Linked DNA regions of Homo sapiens: regions 2, 3, 4, 5 and 6 are each linked to region 1. Evidence: promoter capture Hi-C in 16 types of primary human blood cells and fetal thymus (Javierre and others, 2016). All regions are on one chromosome and are shown on one strand. Each heading gives the region's core, a stretch centred on a gene start or on the middle of the fragment in contact. The rest is flanking DNA. Distances are from core to core; before and after follow the strand shown. Region 1 holds the start of AHCYL2 (adenosylhomocysteinase like 2). Region 2 holds the start of HILPDA (hypoxia inducible lipid droplet associated). Region 3 overlaps UBE2H (ubiquitin conjugating enzyme E2 H). Region 4 has its middle 33 kb from the start of MIR183. Region 5 overlaps UBE2H-DT (UBE2H divergent transcript). Region 6 overlaps UBE2H-DT (UBE2H divergent transcript).

Region 1 (2,700 bases), core at 104-2,603:
TGATTCAGCTTTAAGAGAGAAAGAAAGACAAGCTTTGAGAGAGACAGACAACTATGGATAGACAATGTACGGGTAATACAGGGCTATCATCCACCTAGGCAGTTACTTCTTGGTATTCTGAGACCTCCTCAAAACTGTCTGAAAGAAGCTGACGCCTAAGACCGAAAACCCCACAAAGATCGTCTTTCCCAAAAGTAGCAGCATTTCTTCCTATCACTTTCAGATTATAATAAAGCAATCAATAAGACATTCATTCTCTTCATACACAGCCTAATAATCCTGGTGACCAACTATACCCAGCAGGGAGGACAAAGCTCTTAACACGAAAGAGTGAGGAGAATCTCTCCATTACCCTTTTACATATTCAGGGAAGAGAGAATATCGCAGTCGCTGGAAATGAAGGGCACAGCATCGTGTTGCTGTATGGCCACGGTTGGCCACAGAAAGGCAGAAAGTCATCAACTGTATGGAAACCAGACAACTCTGACGATTTCTATGCAAGGTGACTACACCTTACTCGTTCTCCAAGTATTAAAGATCTTTTCATCCTTATTGCTGTGTGAACTCCCGTGAGCGGTAAGGTTTTTCTATACTATCGAGGTCTCTTCCCCGATAGGCTGGAAAATCACACCCGGGAGCGTGTTGGGGCCGCGGGACGTACTATTAGGTGTCTCTCCTCCCGCTGCCTATTCCAAGTAGTAGGGGAGAGCGCTACCTCCATGTTATTCAGAGCGAAGTACGGCCGTGCCTCCTGGAGTCTCCGCTCCCAGCACGAGGGGCCGGCTGGGGGGCATCTCTGAGAGAGTGGGTTTAAGGGGACAAGGGGTATCTCCGGTCCTGCGATCAGAAAGGAGGGCGTGGAGGGTGGTGCCGCCGTGCCGAGAGGATCTGCAGTTCCCCTCCCCTCCCTTCCTCTCCTAGAGAGGCAGCCCGGCCCCAGTACCTTCTTGACTGTGCGCGGCGCCTCGGTGACGGTGCCGTCGGGGCTGACCAGGGCCTCGCCGCCGTCGCGGTGCCGCTGGTGCTGGTGATGTGGGTCGCTCCGCTTCATGGCCGACGCCTGAGGCACCTTCCCGGCGGCGGGGCTGAGAGCGGCGGCGGGCCCCGAGCCCGGGCCGGGGACCGGGGGCCGCTCCGCGGCGGGAGCTGGAGCCTCAGGGTCTCCACCGCCCGCCGGGGGGGCCATGGCGCCCACGGCGGCCGTGCTCAGTCCTAGTTGCGACTCCGCCTCGGAGGGGCTCAGGTCCTTCAGCTCCACCTCAGGCACCTTGGCGGCAGCCGCGGCTGACACAACCTGCACCGACATCACCGCCTCCGCTGCAACCACCGGCTCAGACTCCAGCTCCTGCTCTTGGTCGGCCCCGCCTCCCACCTCCCTTCCTCTTCCCTCCCCCATGTCCCCACTCCTCCCCTCCATCGCCTCCTCTCCCACCCCCTTTCTCCGCCCGCCAGTCCCGGCCCCTCCAGCCCCGCCCCGCCCCGTCCCGGTCTGGCCTCGCGCGAGGCGCCACGGAACCTGTAGTGCGTTTGCTCCCGGCCGCACGCGGCGAGAAGACCGTGGGACCTCAGGCCCCGACCTACACTGCGCGCCCCATGGGCGGGGCCCGCAGCGTCCCCTGGGAGTTGTAGTCCTTTCAGCCTTTCCTCCACTAAGTGAGATTCAGCCGAGGAGAGGGAGCGCTAGGGCCGGCAGCTAACAGAAAGGAGTGAGGATAGGTGACTCGACGGAGGGGATGAGGAAGAGAAAGTCTCCAGAGGAGTTGTGACTTCCGGGGAGGGAACGCCAAGAAGCCTTAGGGGAGGGGAAGTGGTAGAGGAATGGCTCGTTGTCCTGACAGCGTGAAGTTCCTCCGCGCGTGCCCGTCTGCGATCACGTGAGCGAGTATTTAAAGGAGAAGCGGCGGCTCCAGGCTGGAAGTGGCTTTATTTTTCTTTGTGATATTGAGAACTCAACACCCTTCCAAACTTCAGTGGCTTTGTTTTTAGAAGGGATAAAGTAGGACCTTGCTTGCTGTGGCGCTTTCTGTCACATTCTGGGTTTGGAAGCTAAGATCATTCCTCAAAGAAGTTAGGTATCACTAGATCAAAATTCAAGGCTGAGGAATTACACGTTGCCTTAAACGAGGCCAAATCTTTTCACCTATAATTCTAATAGGGCAATCATCTGAAATTCAGATACATATATCAGCATAGAGGGATATGAATAGTGAATATGAGTAGTTAATTTCCTAAGTGATGGGATTTAAGGTGATTTTTACTTTGTACTTTTCTGTATTATTTTTAAATTTTACATTTAGAGGATGTAAGCAAAAAGACATGCACCGCAGCGTCCTTTTTAATAACAAAAAACTGTCTAAAACTAATGTCCAACAAATAGAGCAATTGTTACAGCCTTTGAAAATCGTTTGCCAGCTGGGCATAGTGGTTGACGTCTGTAATCCCAGCACTTTGGGAGGCCAAGGCCGGCAGATCACTTGAGATCAGGACTTCAAGACCAGCCTGGCCAACATGGTGAAACCCCATCTCTACTAAAAATACAAAAATTAGCCAGGCGTGGTGGCGGGCACCTGAAATCCCAGCTACTTGGGAGGCTGAGGCAGGAGGATCGCTTGAACCTGGGAGGCAGAGGCTGCAGTGAGCCAAGATCATGCCACGGCACTCCAGCCTGGACAACGGAGTGAGATGCCGTCCCAGAAAAAA
Region 2 (2,847 bases), core at 39-2,538, 770 kb after region 1:
TTTGGGGATATGCATGCATCCAGCCCTGACTCTTCTGTCCTCTCACAGGGCTGAAGGAGAGGCTTAGCCAGTGAGGGACACAGGGACCAGGGAGTTGCACAGCAACTCTCCAAGAATATTTTACATTGCAAACTTCATGGCTGCGGAGCCAGTGTTGCTTCTTGGACTAATTCAAGAACACTTCTTAAAACTTTTACTTTCTTAGGCCAGGCGCGGTGGCTCATACCTGTAATCCCAGCGCTCTGGGAGGCCGAGGCGGGTGGATCACCTGAGGTCAGGAATTCGAGACCAGCCTGACCAACATGGTGAAACCCTGTCTCTACTACAAATACAAAAATTAGCCGGGCATAGTGGCACATGCCTGTAATCCCAGCTACTCGGGAGGCTGAGGCAGAATTGCTTGAACCCGGGAGGCAGAGGTTGCAGTGAGCCAAGATCGCGCCATTGCACTCCAGCCTCGGCAACAAAAGCAAAACTCCGTCTCAAAAACAAACAAACAAACATTTACTTTATTGAAAATTTTGTTCCTGCAAGGCACAATACACAACCCCTGTGCTACAGTGCAGGCATCAGTCACCTTCCTGAAATAGGCCCAGTCCTTTTGCAGGGGGGTGGTGGGTAATGGGAAATATAAGAACATGCCCTGGAGAAAGGAACCTGCCTAGAAGTCTCTCCCACATCACAGATTGGAGTTAACTACAAACTTTTTGCAAGTCCAAATAACTCTATGAGGGTCAAATCTATCAAGTTCATTTATTTAACAAACATACCATGAATATCTGCAATGTGTTAGGTACCCTGGAAGATACTAGGGCCACATTGCAAACCTTATAGACAAAGGGTAGTTAACACGCAACACGCTAAGTGTTGGGACAGCAAGGAGATCGTGAAGGTGCTCTGGGAGGGCATGGCAGGGATGCCTAACTCAGCACCTGTGGGCGTGGGATGGGCCACGTGGATCCTAGTTAGGACCACCTTAGGACAAAACAGGGCTGACGGCTGAATGGGGACCCCAGATGGGGCGTGGGCGATCAGAGAGGATCCCGGCGGCGCACCCCCAGCCCTGGAACGCGAGGCTGCTAGCGCGGCGAGCACTCTAGCGATGGGGGTGGGGAGCCGGGGAAGCCCACAGGGCCGCTCACCTCCGGGGGAACAGCCGGGAGTGGATCGCCGGCTGTAGGAGCAGGTCGTGCAGGAGTCCGGAGGAAAGTCGGTTACTAAGCACCAGCGCAGAAGCTTCCCGCCACAAAACTCACCGGAGACAAAAGCGCCGTCAGCCGCAGAGCGCAGAGCAACGCCGCCCAGCCTCCGCCCCTTATAGCCGCGAGCACGCCCCAGGAGGGTACGCGCACGCGCACTGGAGGCCGCACGCACGCCCGGGACGCACACGACGTGGCGCACGTCCGCGGCCCCACCCCGCGGGCAACGGGGTTTGGGGATTGTCCCGGGTGCTCTCCCGCGGAGCTGTTTCCAAAAGTACACGTCGTGCGGTTTTGAGTCATTGTGTTCTGGAGTGAGACGAGGCGTGTGTATTAATCTCGACTGCCATCTCTGCTGTAGAAAACATTTGAAGGAGTCAGAGAGCACATATCCCTTCTCCCCAGTAGGTGAAAAACACCGATGGCCTTCGTGTCCGTGAAGCCCCGCCGTGAAGGGTGGGTTCTTCCCCAGAGATTTCGGGTGCACTAAATTGTCAGAGGGCACCAGACCCCTACCCCACTCGTTATTTTCTTCATTTCAAGGACTGAAGAGCTGGTTTTGTTTCACTTCATAGCTGTACCAAGATTCCAAATCCCGAGTTTCAGTTGCCATCGGTATCTCTGGAATGGTGAGGCCCTTGTGCAACATATTAAGCTCTGCAAGCTCTGCTTTCTATGAGAGTTTGTCGTGTCGCTTCAGAAAACGTGAAATACTCCTGGCCCTGGTGTGGGATCCTAACTGCATATGGGCAAGTCACTTGGTATTTAAATGGGCCTCGGTTTTCTCATCTGTAATGAAGACATTGGCCACTAGATGATTTTTCTTCTTCTTCTTCTTTTTTTTTTTTAAATAGAGACAGTCTCGCTATGTTGCCCAGGCTGGTCTCGAACTCCTGATCTCAAGCCATCCTCCCACCTCTGCCTCCCAAAGTGCTGGGGCTACAGGCGTGAGCCACCGCGCCCGGCCGCTAGATGATTTTTAAGGGTGCTTTCGGCTTGAACTAAAGAGCCAGGAGGTCACAGACCAGCCTTATGTCCAGATTTGGGGGGCTAGGCTGCCTTACTAATCACCCCCGAACCCACCCAGCCAAGACTGTGCGGTCTGTCTTGAGAGCACGCAACGGGGGATCTCAGAAAGTAGAGTCCCGGAGAGACACTGGGAATGGGGAGGACCCCCGGGAAGGGGTGTACACGCCGTGGAAGGGAAGGCCGCTGGTGGCTTTAGAACTGGCGGTTCCGTGTACCCGGGTCAAGTGCCCGTGCCGGATGGGAAAGAACCCTGTGACTTTCCACATCTCAGCGAGCTCGGCGGGCTCTGCTTAAGAAGGGCTCTAAGACGGGAAGGGAGGAGCCATCCCCACTGCGACCTTTCCCCTCCTTTCCTGGCTGGCTGGCTGTGGTCTGTCGGGAATGAGGGGGTGGGGAAGCCGGGAAAGCAGAAGGTTGGGGCTGGAGGTCTGCTGGCAGGCAGGCAGACATTTGGAGCCAACTTTCCTGCTCAGCCCGCAGAACTTTTGGTCCTTCGCTATACCAGAGTTTCGTCTGTTTTTTTGCTTGACTGTGTGACCCTTCTCTCACACTGTTATTAAATAGGTCTCAAGCTGCGAAATCACTGCCAGATCCAAACGCCACTACTTTGCCAGGTGAA
Region 3 (2,723 bases), core at 22-2,521, 720 kb before region 1:
CCCATGTTATTTAGTTCATTTTTTTTTTATTGCTGAGTAGTATTCTATTATGTGGATATACCACAATTTGTTTATGCATTCACCTCTTAATGCTTGGTGGCATTTGGGTTATTTCCAGTTTTGGGCTATTACCAGTAAAGTTGCTATGAACATTGTATGGATATACGCTTTTTTTTCTCTTGGCTAAGCTAGATCATGTGGTAGGGTTTGCGCATGCGCGTGCGTGCGTGCGTGTGTGTGTGTGTGTGTGTGTGTGTGTGTGTGTGTTTTGAGCGCATGCGCACGTGTGTGTTTTGAGACAGGATTTCACTCTGTTGCCCAGATGAGAGTTCATGGTGTGATCTCAGCTCACTGCAGTCGTGGCCACTTGCCTGGCTAATTTTATTTTTTTTGTAGAGATGAGGTCTCACTGTTGGCCAGGCTGGTCTCAAATTCCTGGGCTTAAGTGATCCTCTGGCCTTGGCCTCCCAAAGTGCTGGGATTACAGATGTAAGCCGCTGTGCCCAGCCATGTTTAACACGTAGTTTGAATTTAATGTTTACTGATGATGGTCCATATTTCACACCCAAATAAAATTGTGACAACGGTTGTTTCACTTGTGTGTTTTGTTTTGTTTTGTTTTGTTTTGAGACGGAGTCTTCGCTCTGTCGCCCAGGCTGAGTGTAGTGGCGCGATCTCGGCTCACTGCCAGCTCCGCCTCCTGGGTTCACGCCATTCTCCTGCCTCGGCCTCCTGAGTAGCTGGAACTACAGGCACCCGCCACCAAGCCTGGCTAATTTTTTGTATTTTTAGTAGCGACAGGGTTTCACCATGTTAGCGAGGATGGTCTTGATCTCCTGACCTCATGATCTGCCCACCGTGGCCTCCCAAAGTGCTGGGATTACAGGCATGAGCCACAGCGCCTGGCCTCACTTGTGTATTTTAAAGGAATCATGTTAAATTACATGCTCTTAAAGCACTGATTTATTTTTTATTATTAACCTTATTTTATAGTATATGAATTTTGTTAATTTTTTTATCAATAAAACAAATTTTACCACAATGATTGTGATACCTTTCACTTGAATAATGATTTAAACACTTTATCTTCCTTTTTTAAAGACAGAATCAGTCTCGCTCTGTCGCCCAGACTGGCTCTCTGCAACCTCTGCCTCCTGAGTTCAAGCGATTCTCCTGCCTCACCCTCCCGAGTAGCTGGGATTACAGGGGCCTGCCACCACACCCAGCTAATTTTTGTATTTTTAGTTAGAGACAGGGTTTTGCCATGTTGGCCAGGTTGGTCTTGAACTCTTGACCTCAGGTGATCCGCCTGCCTCTGCCTCTCAAGTACTGGGATTACAGGTGTGAGCCACGATGCCTGGCCAATCTGGTTTTTTGTTTGTTTTTGTGTTTGTGTTTTTAGACGGAGTCTGGCTGTGTTGCCCAGGCTAGAGTGCAGTGGTGCGATTTCAACTCACTGCAACCTCTGCCTCCCGGCGCTTGGCCTAAAGCATTGATTTCTAGCTGAATTTGGTTAAAGCTGATTTGGTAGCTACTCTTCTCTCCCCACCCCCATTTGAAATTAGTAAATTAAATTTTTATTGTGAAATATTTTTGTTAGCCTGAGCTACATGGCAAAAGCCTATTTCTACCAAAACAGATAAAAAATTAGCCAGGTATGGTGGCATGCACTTGTAATCCCAGCTACTCTGGGGGCTGAGGCAGAAGGATCACTTAAGCCCAGGAGGCAGAGGTTGTGGTGAGTTAAGATCATGCCACTGCAGTCCAGCCTGGGTGACAGGGCAAGGCCCTGTCTAAAAAAAATGTTTTGTGGCCCTTTGAAATTACACTTTAGGAATCTGGCCGGCCATAGTGGCTCATGCCTGTAATCCTGGCACTTTGGGAGGCTGAGGTGGGCAGATCACCTGAGGTCAAGAGTTCAAGACCAACCTGGCCAACATGGCGAAACCCCATCTCTACTAAAAATGCAAAAACTAGCTGGGTGTGGTGGTGCACACCTGTAATCCCAGCTACTCAGGAGGCTGAGGCAGGAGAATTGCTTGAACCTGGGAGTCGGAGGTTGTGGTGAGCCGAGATTATGCCACTGCACTCCAACCCCGGGGAACAGAGCAAGACTCCATCTCAAAAAACAAAAAAAAAAACACATTACACTTTAGGATCATAGTCACAAACAGCAATTTTATTTTTATATTTGCTAGTAAGGCTCTATATCTTTGTGAATAGGTAAGCACACTTTTTGTTGATGGTATTATTTTCTTTGTAAAGTATTGATAAGATTTTTTTTAACATTTCTTTAGCATTTCTAGTGAAGTTTACAGCAGTTGATAAATATTTCTGGAGCACTCTGTTGAAGTCTGAATAATATCTTCAATTTTCACATGGAATAAACTCAGGTGAAAGGAACTAACAGCAGCTCAGTGACAGAATGGGAAACAGACTATAAGAGTTAGGATATCCTTTGATATCATGCTTTCCTGGAATTTTTGTGTGTGTGAGAGACGGAGTTTCACTCTTGTTGCCCAGGCTGGAGTGCAATGGCATGATCTCGGCTCACTGCGACCTCTGCCTCCCAGGTTCAAGCGATTCTCCTGCCTCAGCCTCCTGAGTAGCTGGGATTACAGGCATGTGCCACCACGCCTGGCTAATTTTTTATTTTTAGTAGAGAGGTGATCCCCCTGCCTTGGCCTCCCAGAGTGCTGGGATTACAGGTGTGAGCCACCGCG
Region 4 (2,700 bases), core at 30-2,529, 580 kb before region 1:
AGTAGCTGGGATTACAGGCACTGCCACCATGCCTGGCTAATTTTTGTATTTTTAGTAGAGACAGAGTTTCATCATGTTGGCCAGGCTGGTCTTGAACTCCTGACCTCAGGTGATCTGCCTGCTTGGCCTCCCAAAGCACTGGGATTATAGGCATGAGCCACCACACCCGGCTGAAAGTACACTTTTTTTGTTTTTGTTTTTGTTTTTGTTTGAGACGGAGTGTCGCTCTGTCGCCCAGGCTGGAGTGCAGTGGCGTGATCTCAGCTCACTGCAAGCTCCACCTCCCGGGTTCACGCCATTCTCCTGCCTCAGCCTCCTGAGTAGCTGGGACTACAGCCGCCCACCACCACGCCCACCTAATTTTTTGTATTTTTAGTAGAGATGGGGTTTCACCGTTTTAGCTAGGATGGTCTCGATCTCCTGACCTCATGATCCGCCCGCCTCGGCCTCCCAAAGTGCTGGGATTACAGGTATGGCCGCTGCGCCTGGTGGAAGTACAGTTTTTAACCCCTGCTTCACCCTTAACAGATACACAGAAATGACAAGGAAAGGCCCGGAAACTTATAGGCCTGATTAAGCTTTTGGGAGCCATCCCCAAAGCAGATTTTCAAATTATGCGTTTGTTTGCATCTCTGAAGGTTTTTGTACCCAGAGGCAATGAACCTTCAGAATGCCATCGATGGCAAGTGGGGTTCAGAAGGGTGGGGGGGAGCCAGGCCAGGTAAAAGTGGATGTGAAAAACATTTTGTTTTATTTTATTTTTAAAATTTATTTTGAGACAGTGTCTCACTCTGTCACCCAGGCTGGAGTGCAGTGGCATGATCATGGCTCACTGCAGCCTCAACCTCCTGGGCCCAAGTGATCCTCTTACCTCAGCCTCCCAGGTAGCTGGGACTACAGGCATGCACCACCGCAGCTGGCTAGTTTGTTTTAATAGAGACAGGGTCTCTCTATGTTGTCCAGGCTGCTCTTGAACGTCTGGGCTCAAGGATCCTCCTGCCTTGGCTTCCCAAAGTGCTGGGATTACAGGCATGAGGTACCTTGCCTGACTGAAAATATGTTGATGTTATCTCCAGCTGCCGTATGGAAAATATATTGGCTGGGTGCGGTGGCTCATGCCTGTAATCCCAGCACTTTGGGAGGCTGAGACAGGTGGATCACCTGAGGTCAGGAGTTTGAGACCAGCCTGGCCAACATGGCAAAACCCCATCTGTACTAAAAATACAAAAATTAGCCATGTGTGGTGGCATAGGCCTATAATCCCAGCTACTTGGGAGGCTGAGGCAGGAGAATCGCTTGAACCCAGGAGGTGGAGGTTGCAGTGAGCTGAGATAGTGCCAGTGTACTCCAGCCTGGGTGACAGAGCGAGACTCCATCAAAGAAAAGAAAAGAATAGAGAAGAGGGAAGGGGAGGGGAGAGGAGAGGAGAGGAGAGGAGAGAGGAGATAGAGAGCATGCATGGAAGCCAGAGGGCAGTGTCACAATCCAGGCTGGAGAGGTGGTGGCCTGGGCAAGGATGGGCCAATGGAGGGGGCGGGCTTGCTTTGGAGTGGATGTGCTGGGGAGAGAAAGAAGAATTGATGATGAAGCCTGGACTTCTATTTGAGCAACCAGGTAGTGAGAATTCTACCTACTGAGATGAGAAAGGAGGCACAGGAGGAATTTGGGGAGGGAGGGATATGGTGAGTTTAAGAGGATCACTCAGCAGGTGAAAATGTCAGGCAGGAAATTATAGAAATGGGTGCTGTGTTCAGGGGCAAGGCCTTGTGGATATATCCAGTTTGGGAGTCATTCGCACACAGATAATATTGAAAGCCTGTGGAATTGAATGAGGTTACCTAGGGACCTAGGGAGAGAGATGGATAGAGATTCACTTTTCCTACCTCCTTGCTTTCAAACGTGCTTTCTCTCACATCAAATATTTATGTTCATTAGCTCTACTTCCAAACTCTTCATTTTGTTTCAATTATTGAAGCTTTTATTTTGCTGGGCACCATATTGTTTAAAATACTGCTATGGTTTGAATGTGTCCCTCAATGATCATGTCTCAGAAACTTAATCCCCAGTGCAGCAATGTTGAGACTGGGACCTTTTGCAAGGGCTCTGACTTTGTGTGTGGATTAATGTCCTTATCAGCGGAGCGGGTTTATTATAAAAGCAAGTTTGGTACTCTCTTGCTTTCTCTCTCTCTCTCTCTTTCTCTCTCATGCTTTTTTGCCCTTCCACCTCTTGTTATGGGATGACAGACACAGCCAGAGGCCCAGATGCAGGCCTCTCAGCCTTGGATTTTCCAGCCTCCAGAAATGTAAGAAATGAATCTCTGTTCCTAGCTGGACGTAGTGGTTCACGCCTGTAATCCCAGCACTTTGGGAGGCCAAGGCATGTGGATCACCTGAGGTCAGGAGTTCAAGACCAGCCTGGCCAACATGGTGAAACCCTGTCTCTGCTAAAAATACAAAAAATTAGCCGGGTGTGGTGGCGGGCACCTGTGATCCCAGCTACTTGGGAGGCTGAGGCAGGAGAATTGTTTGAACTGGGGAAGCAGAGGTTGCAATGAGCTGAGATTGTGCCACGGCACTCCAGCCTAGGCAACAGAGTAAGACTCTGTCTCAAAAAAAAAGAATCTCTGTTCTTTATAAGTTACCTGGTCTCAGGTATTCTCTTACAAAATAGACTAAGACAAATACTGTTGCTTTCTCA
Region 5 (2,755 bases), core at 88-2,587, 790 kb before region 1:
TTGATTTTCAGATTGGCTGCAAAGCCTAAAATTTGTGATTCCAGTCAAGGAGGTATAATCTTTCCTAAACCAAAAGCAAGATGATTTTCATTATGCCACCAGGAAATTTCCTGGTGTGTTATAGTGAATGGTCAACTGATAATTTTCTCCTTGCTTTGATAATAACAGAATAAAACAATGTAATGGGGAGGAAGGCACTTCAGAAGAGACCCCTCTCCATGTGCCATTGAATGCATGAGTCCCCCAGTTGGGCTTCCCCAAGACTCGTTGCTTTTGGGGGATCATCAGTTTTTGTGGTAGAGAAGGTGGACCCTGAACTGCCCACTGATAAAGTAACCATGACCTAGCAAAGGCTAGAAAGTGATTATTCTCTGATATGCCATGTTTTTCGTCACTGAGATTGTTTTGTTTTATACTTTTGTACTGAAGTATTTTAAAGAAAATAACACATAATATTTTACTCATAGTTTAATCTCTAAAAAATAGAACCTAGGCCAGGTGCGGTAGCTCACACCTGTAATCCCAGCACTTTGGGAGGCCAAGGTGGGCAGATCACTTGAGGTCAAGAGTTCAAGACCAACCTGGCCAACATGGTGAAACCCTATCTCTACTAAAAATACAAAAATTAGCCAGGCGTGGTGACGGGTGCCTGGTGTCCCAGCTACTGGAGAGGCTGAGACAGGAGAATCGTTTGAACCCAGGAGGTGGAAGCTACAGCGAGCCGAGATCGTCTGCTGCACTCCAGCCTGGGTGACAGAGCAAGACTCCGTCTCATTATATATATATATATATATTTATGTATATTTTTATATATATATAACTTTTCTCCAACATATTACACCCAACAAAAATTAATAATCTGACCGGGCGTGGTGGCTCACGCCTGTAATCCCAGCACTTTGGGAGGCCAAGGTGGGCGGATCACCTGAGGTCAGGAGTTCAAGATCAGCCTGGCCAACATGGTGAAACCCTGTCTCTATTAAAAATACAAAAATCAGCCGTGTGTGGCGGCGTGCACCTGTAATCCCAGCTGCTCTGGAGGCAGAGGCAGGAGAATAGCTGGAACCCCGGGGGAGGAGGCTACAGTGAGATTGCCGCCATTACACTCCAGCCTTGGCGTCAGAGCAAGAGTCCAGGTCAAAAAATAAAAATAAAATGGCCAGGCACAGTGGCTCACGCCTGTAATCCCAGCACTTTGGGAGGCCGAGGCTGGCGGATCACGAGGTGAGGAGATCGAGACCATCCTGGCTAACACGGTGAAACACCATCTCTATTAAAAATATAAAAAACTAGCTGGGCGTGGTGGCGGGCGCCTGTAGTTCCAGCTACTGAGCGCAGGAGAATGGCGCGAACCCGGGAGGCGGAGCTTACAGTGAGCCGAGATCGACCACTGCACTCCAGCCTGGGCAACAGAGCGAGACTCCATCTCAAAAATAATAATAATAATAAATTAAAAAATAAAATAAAATCATAAATGGAAGCAGAGGCCAGGCATGATGCCTCATGCCTACAATCCCAACACTTTGGGAGGCTGAGGCAGGAGGATCACTCAAGTCTAGGAGTTCAAGACCAGCCTGGGCAACAAGGAGAAATCCTGTCTTAAACGAAAAATAGAAAAAAATTAGTGAGGTATGGTGGCTTTTGCCTGTAGTCTCAGCTACTCAGGAGGCTGAGCTGGGAGGATCTCTTGAGCCCAGAAAGGCAGACTGCAGTGAGCTAAGATCACCGTTGCACTCACTCCAGCCTGGGCAACAGAGTGAGACCCTGTCTCAAAAATAAATATGTAAATAAAAATATAAATTGAAGCAGATTGAGATAGACTTTGTGTAATTCAAGAAACATTCTCTTTCATGTGTGAGGCACTGTGCTAGCCCCTGTAGATGAATGACTACCTACTTTCTACCTCTAAGAAGTATATAGGCCAGGCCAGAAGACACACTGGTATATAAATGTTGCGGGACAAACTGCTAAATGCTCTAGTCTAGGAGAGGTATAAAAAAGGAAGAAGTGAATGGTCATGTGTCGTTGGGAAGAACTTTGAGGAAGGTGTAGATTTGAGCTGGTCCTTGGAGATGAGTGGGAGATGCAGGCTCCATGAGAACAGGGACTTTGTCCTGGTTTTAATCTCAACATTCAAAACAGTGCCTGACACGTGATAGACCCTCGGTTAAAAATATGCACATCCGAGACTGAGGGAGCATTGTAAGCAAATGAGCAGCATGTAGGATATGTTCCAGGAAGAGCAGGTATTCTGCTGTGGCTAGAACTCTGTGTTGAGTAGAAAAGAAAGGAAAAGAAAATGGAAGTTGGGCCAGATTAGAGTCTTGTATGTTATACTAAGGAGTTTGGACTTGATTCTCTAGGGAAAGAGAAACTCTTAAAGAATATTTTGGGCTGGGCATGGTGGCTCATGCCTGTAATCCCAGCACTTTGGGAGGCCGAGGCGGGCAGATCAGTTGAGGTCAGGAGTTTGAGACCAGTCTGGCCAACATGGTGAAAGCCCGTCTCTACTAAAAATACAAAAGTTAGCTGGGTGTGGTGGCACATGACTATAATCCCAGCTACTCGGGAGGCTGAGGCAGGAGAATCACTTGAACCTGGGAGATGAAGGTTGTAGTGAGCTGAGATCACGCCACTGCACTCTAGCTTGGGTGACAGAGCAAGACTCTGTCTCAGAAAAAAAAAAAAAAAAAAAAAAAAGACATTTGTGCTTAGGAAGATAATTCCAGTGTCTCTGAATAGCCTGGCTTAGGGA
Region 6 (2,700 bases), core at 158-2,657, 740 kb before region 1:
CTAGCACTTTGGGAGGCCAAGGTGGGTGGATCACGAGGTCAGAAGTTCAATACCAGCCTGGCCAACATGGTGAAACCCCACCTCTACTAAAAACTACAAAAATTAGCCAGGTGTGGTGGCACGCGCCTATAGTCCCAGCTACTTGGGAGGCTGAGGCAGAAGAATCGCTTGAACCCGGGAGGCGGAGGTTGCAGTGAGCCGCAATCATGTCACTGCACTCCAGCCTGGGTGACAGGGCGAGACTCTGTCTCAAAAAATAATAATAAATAAATAAATAAATAAATAAATAGGCTGGTCGCAGTGGCTCATGCCTGTAATCCCAGCACTTTGGGAGGCCGAGGCGGATGGATCACCTGAGGTCAGGAGTTCATAGACCAGCCTGGCCAACATGGCAAAACCCCGTCTCTACTGAAAATACAAAAATTAGCCAGGCATGGTGGCAGGTGCCTGTAATCCCAGCTATTTGGAAGGGTGAGACATGAGAATCACTTGAACCTGGGAGAGGGAGGTTGCAGTGAGTGGAGATTGTGCCATTGCACTCCACCCTGGTTGACAGAGTGAGACTCTGTCTCAAAAATCAATCAATAAATAAGCTGGGTACAGCGGCTCATGTCTATAATTCCAGCACTTTGGGAGTCTGAGGTAGGAGGGTAACCTGAGCCCAGGAGTTCAAGACCAGCCTGGGCAGCATAGCGAGACCCTATGTCTACCAAAAAAAAAAAAAAGTCAGCCAGGTATGGTGGCACACAGCTGTAGTCCCAGCTACTTGGGGGCCTGAGGTGGGAGGATCACTTGAGCCTGGGAGTTTGAGGCTGTGTGAGGCATAATAGCACCAAGACACTCTAGCCTGGACGACAGAGCAAGGCCCTATCTCTAAATAATTAAATACTAAGGTGCTCAGGGAAGGCTCTACTGAGAAGGTGACATTTCAGCAAAGACTCAAAGGACATTAGGGAGCAGGCCATATGCTTATCTAGGGGAAGAATATTTTAGGCTGAGAAAGTAGCAAAGTGCAAAGGACCCCAGGCCGGGGCATGCTTGGTGTATATGAGGAACAGCAAGAAACCCAATGTGGGCTGGTCTGAGTGCAGTGTTTACAACTCTTGATTACAGATTTCTTTGTTCCTTCTCCATCCCCACTGCTTCACTTGACTAGTCTTAAAATATATATCTACATGTGAAAAAAGAAAAAATGAAAAAGACCAGTGTGGGTAGAAAGGAGTGAGTGACAGAATCGGATAGGGCAGCTCCTGTAGGGCTTTGAATGCCTGTGATGGCTTTGACTTTTACATGATGTCACGATGTGAACTGGGAAGCTCTTGGAGGGTTTTGAACAGTAGGGAGACAAGATTTGCTTTATAGTTAGGCTCACTGGCTTCTGAGTTGAATACAGGGTTTGAAGAAGTGAGGCCAACTGGGAAGTGATTATAGCAATCTATGTAAGAGATGATGGCTTGGTAGAGAAGGCAAGGAAAAGATTCTGGATATATTTTGACGGTAGGGCCAACAGGATTTCCTGATAATTGGATGAAGGGGCTAAAGAACAAGAAGGGTCGGGGACCGTAATTCAAGGCCCTTGGCCTGAGCAGCTAGAAGAATGTATTAGGTTGAACCAAATGAAATCACCAATATTTGATAGTTCTTAACCTTAAAAGGCAATTTCATATATTTCAACTTAATAGTTGTCATTGACTGAGATGGGGAAAAGTATGTGAGGAAGAGGTGAGGAGGTGGTATCAGAAATTTATTTTTGGACATGAGATGTCGCACAGGCAGCTATGTATATGCCTCTGAGTTCAGGGGTGTCTTAGTCTTTTTTCTGTTGCTATAACAGAATAACACAGAGCCCTCACAACCTAATCACCTCTTAAAAAAGAAAAGACAGCTGGGTGCAGTGGCTCACGCCTGTAATCCCAGCACTCTGGGAGGCCCAGGCAAGTGGATCACCTGAGGTCAAGAGTTTGAGACCAGCCTGACCAACATGGAGAAACCCAGTCTCTACTAAAAATACAAAATTAGCTGGGCGTGGTGGCACATGCCTGGAATCCCAGCTATTTGGGAGGCTGAGGCAGGAGAATCGCTTGAACCCAGGAGGCAGAGGTTTCTGTGAGCCGAGATCACGCCACTGCATTCCAGCCTGGGCAATAAGAGCAAAACTCCATCTCAAAAAATAAATGAATAGTCGCCGGGTGCGGTGGCTCATGCCTATAATCCCAGCCCTTTGGGAGGCTGAGGCGGGTGGATCACCTGAGGTTGGGAGTTCGAGACTAGCCTGACCAACATGGAAAAACCCCATCTCTACTAAAAATACAAAAGTAGCCGGGTGTGGTGGCACATTCCTGTGATCCCAGCTACTTGGGAGGCTGAGGCAGGAGAATCGCTTGAACCCAGGAGGCGGAGGTTGTGGTGAGCCGAGATCGCGCCATTGCACTCCAGCCTGGGCAACAAAAGCAAAACTCTGTCTCAAAAATAAATATATTAATTAATTAATTAATTAATTAAAAATAAAAGAGAAGCTAGGTGTGGTGGCTCACGCCTGCAATCCCAGCACTTTGGGAGGCCGAGGTGGGTGCATCACCTGAGGTCAGGAGTTTCAGACCAGCCTGGCCAACATGGTGAAACCTTGTTTCTACCAAAAATACGCAAAAAAATTAGCTGGGTATGGTGGCGGGTGTCTGTAATCCCAGCTACTTGAGAGGC

What was found. Contacts are between HindIII fragments. The CHiCAGO score rates a contact against its expected background, and 5 or more counts as called.
Region 2: the fragment with the promoter of HILPDA here is called in contact with the fragment with the promoter of AHCYL2 in region 1 in 2 of 17 cell types (total B cells and fetal thymus); the score reaches 7.7 in total B cells.
Region 3: a fragment that was not itself captured here is called in contact with the fragment with the promoter of AHCYL2 in region 1 in 1 of 17 cell types (neutrophils); the score reaches 6.3 in neutrophils.
Region 4: a fragment that was not itself captured here is called in contact with the fragment with the promoter of AHCYL2 in region 1 in 1 of 17 cell types (neutrophils); the score reaches 5.3 in neutrophils.
Region 5: a contact is called between a fragment that was not itself captured here and the fragment with the promoter of AHCYL2 in region 1, in 1 of 17 cell types (neutrophils). The highest score is 12.9, in neutrophils.
Region 6: a fragment that was not itself captured here is called in contact with the fragment with the promoter of AHCYL2 in region 1 in 1 of 17 cell types (neutrophils); the score reaches 9.0 in neutrophils.

The regions. Positions count from the first base shown.
Region 1 is chr7:129,223,683-129,226,382 of GRCh38, reverse strand. AHCYL2 (adenosylhomocysteinase like 2) reads right to left here and starts at 1,353. Exons shown (of 17, transcript NM_015328.4): 1 at 944-1,353. The coding sequence starts at 1,306. RefSeq lists silencers at 1,020-1,269, 1,390-1,459 and an enhancer at 1,740-1,849. The HindIII fragment of the contact is 12,976 bases long and covers 35-2,700 here.
Region 2 is chr7:128,454,319-128,457,165 of GRCh38, reverse strand. HILPDA (hypoxia inducible lipid droplet associated) reads right to left here and starts at 1,288. Exons shown (of 2, transcript NM_013332.4): 1 at 1,143-1,288. It also overlaps the pseudogene EFCAB3P1. RefSeq lists a silencer at 1,236-1,375 and enhancers at 1,476-1,645, 2,554-2,847. The HindIII fragment of the contact is 2,271 bases long and covers 1,239-2,847 here.
Region 3 is chr7:129,942,260-129,944,982 of GRCh38, reverse strand. The region is part of intron 1 of UBE2H (ubiquitin conjugating enzyme E2 H); the gene reads left to right. Among named protein-coding and RNA genes, the nearest start is that of UBE2H, 9.3 kb to the left of the region's middle. The HindIII fragment of the contact is 2,953 bases long and covers 1-2,723 here.
Region 4 is chr7:129,806,842-129,809,541 of GRCh38, reverse strand. No RefSeq gene overlaps it. Among named protein-coding and RNA genes, the nearest start is that of MIR183, 33 kb to the right of the region's middle. The HindIII fragment of the contact is 1,397 bases long and covers 581-1,977 here.
Region 5 is chr7:130,015,466-130,018,220 of GRCh38, reverse strand. The region is part of intron 3 of UBE2H-DT (UBE2H divergent transcript); the gene reads right to left. Among named protein-coding and RNA genes, the nearest start is that of ZC3HC1, 35 kb to the left of the region's middle. The HindIII fragment of the contact is 3,723 bases long and covers 1-2,755 here.
Region 6 is chr7:129,960,451-129,963,150 of GRCh38, reverse strand. The region is part of intron 1 of UBE2H-DT (UBE2H divergent transcript); the gene reads right to left. Among named protein-coding and RNA genes, the nearest start is that of UBE2H-DT, 8.7 kb to the right of the region's middle. The HindIII fragment of the contact is 3,673 bases long and covers 1-2,700 here.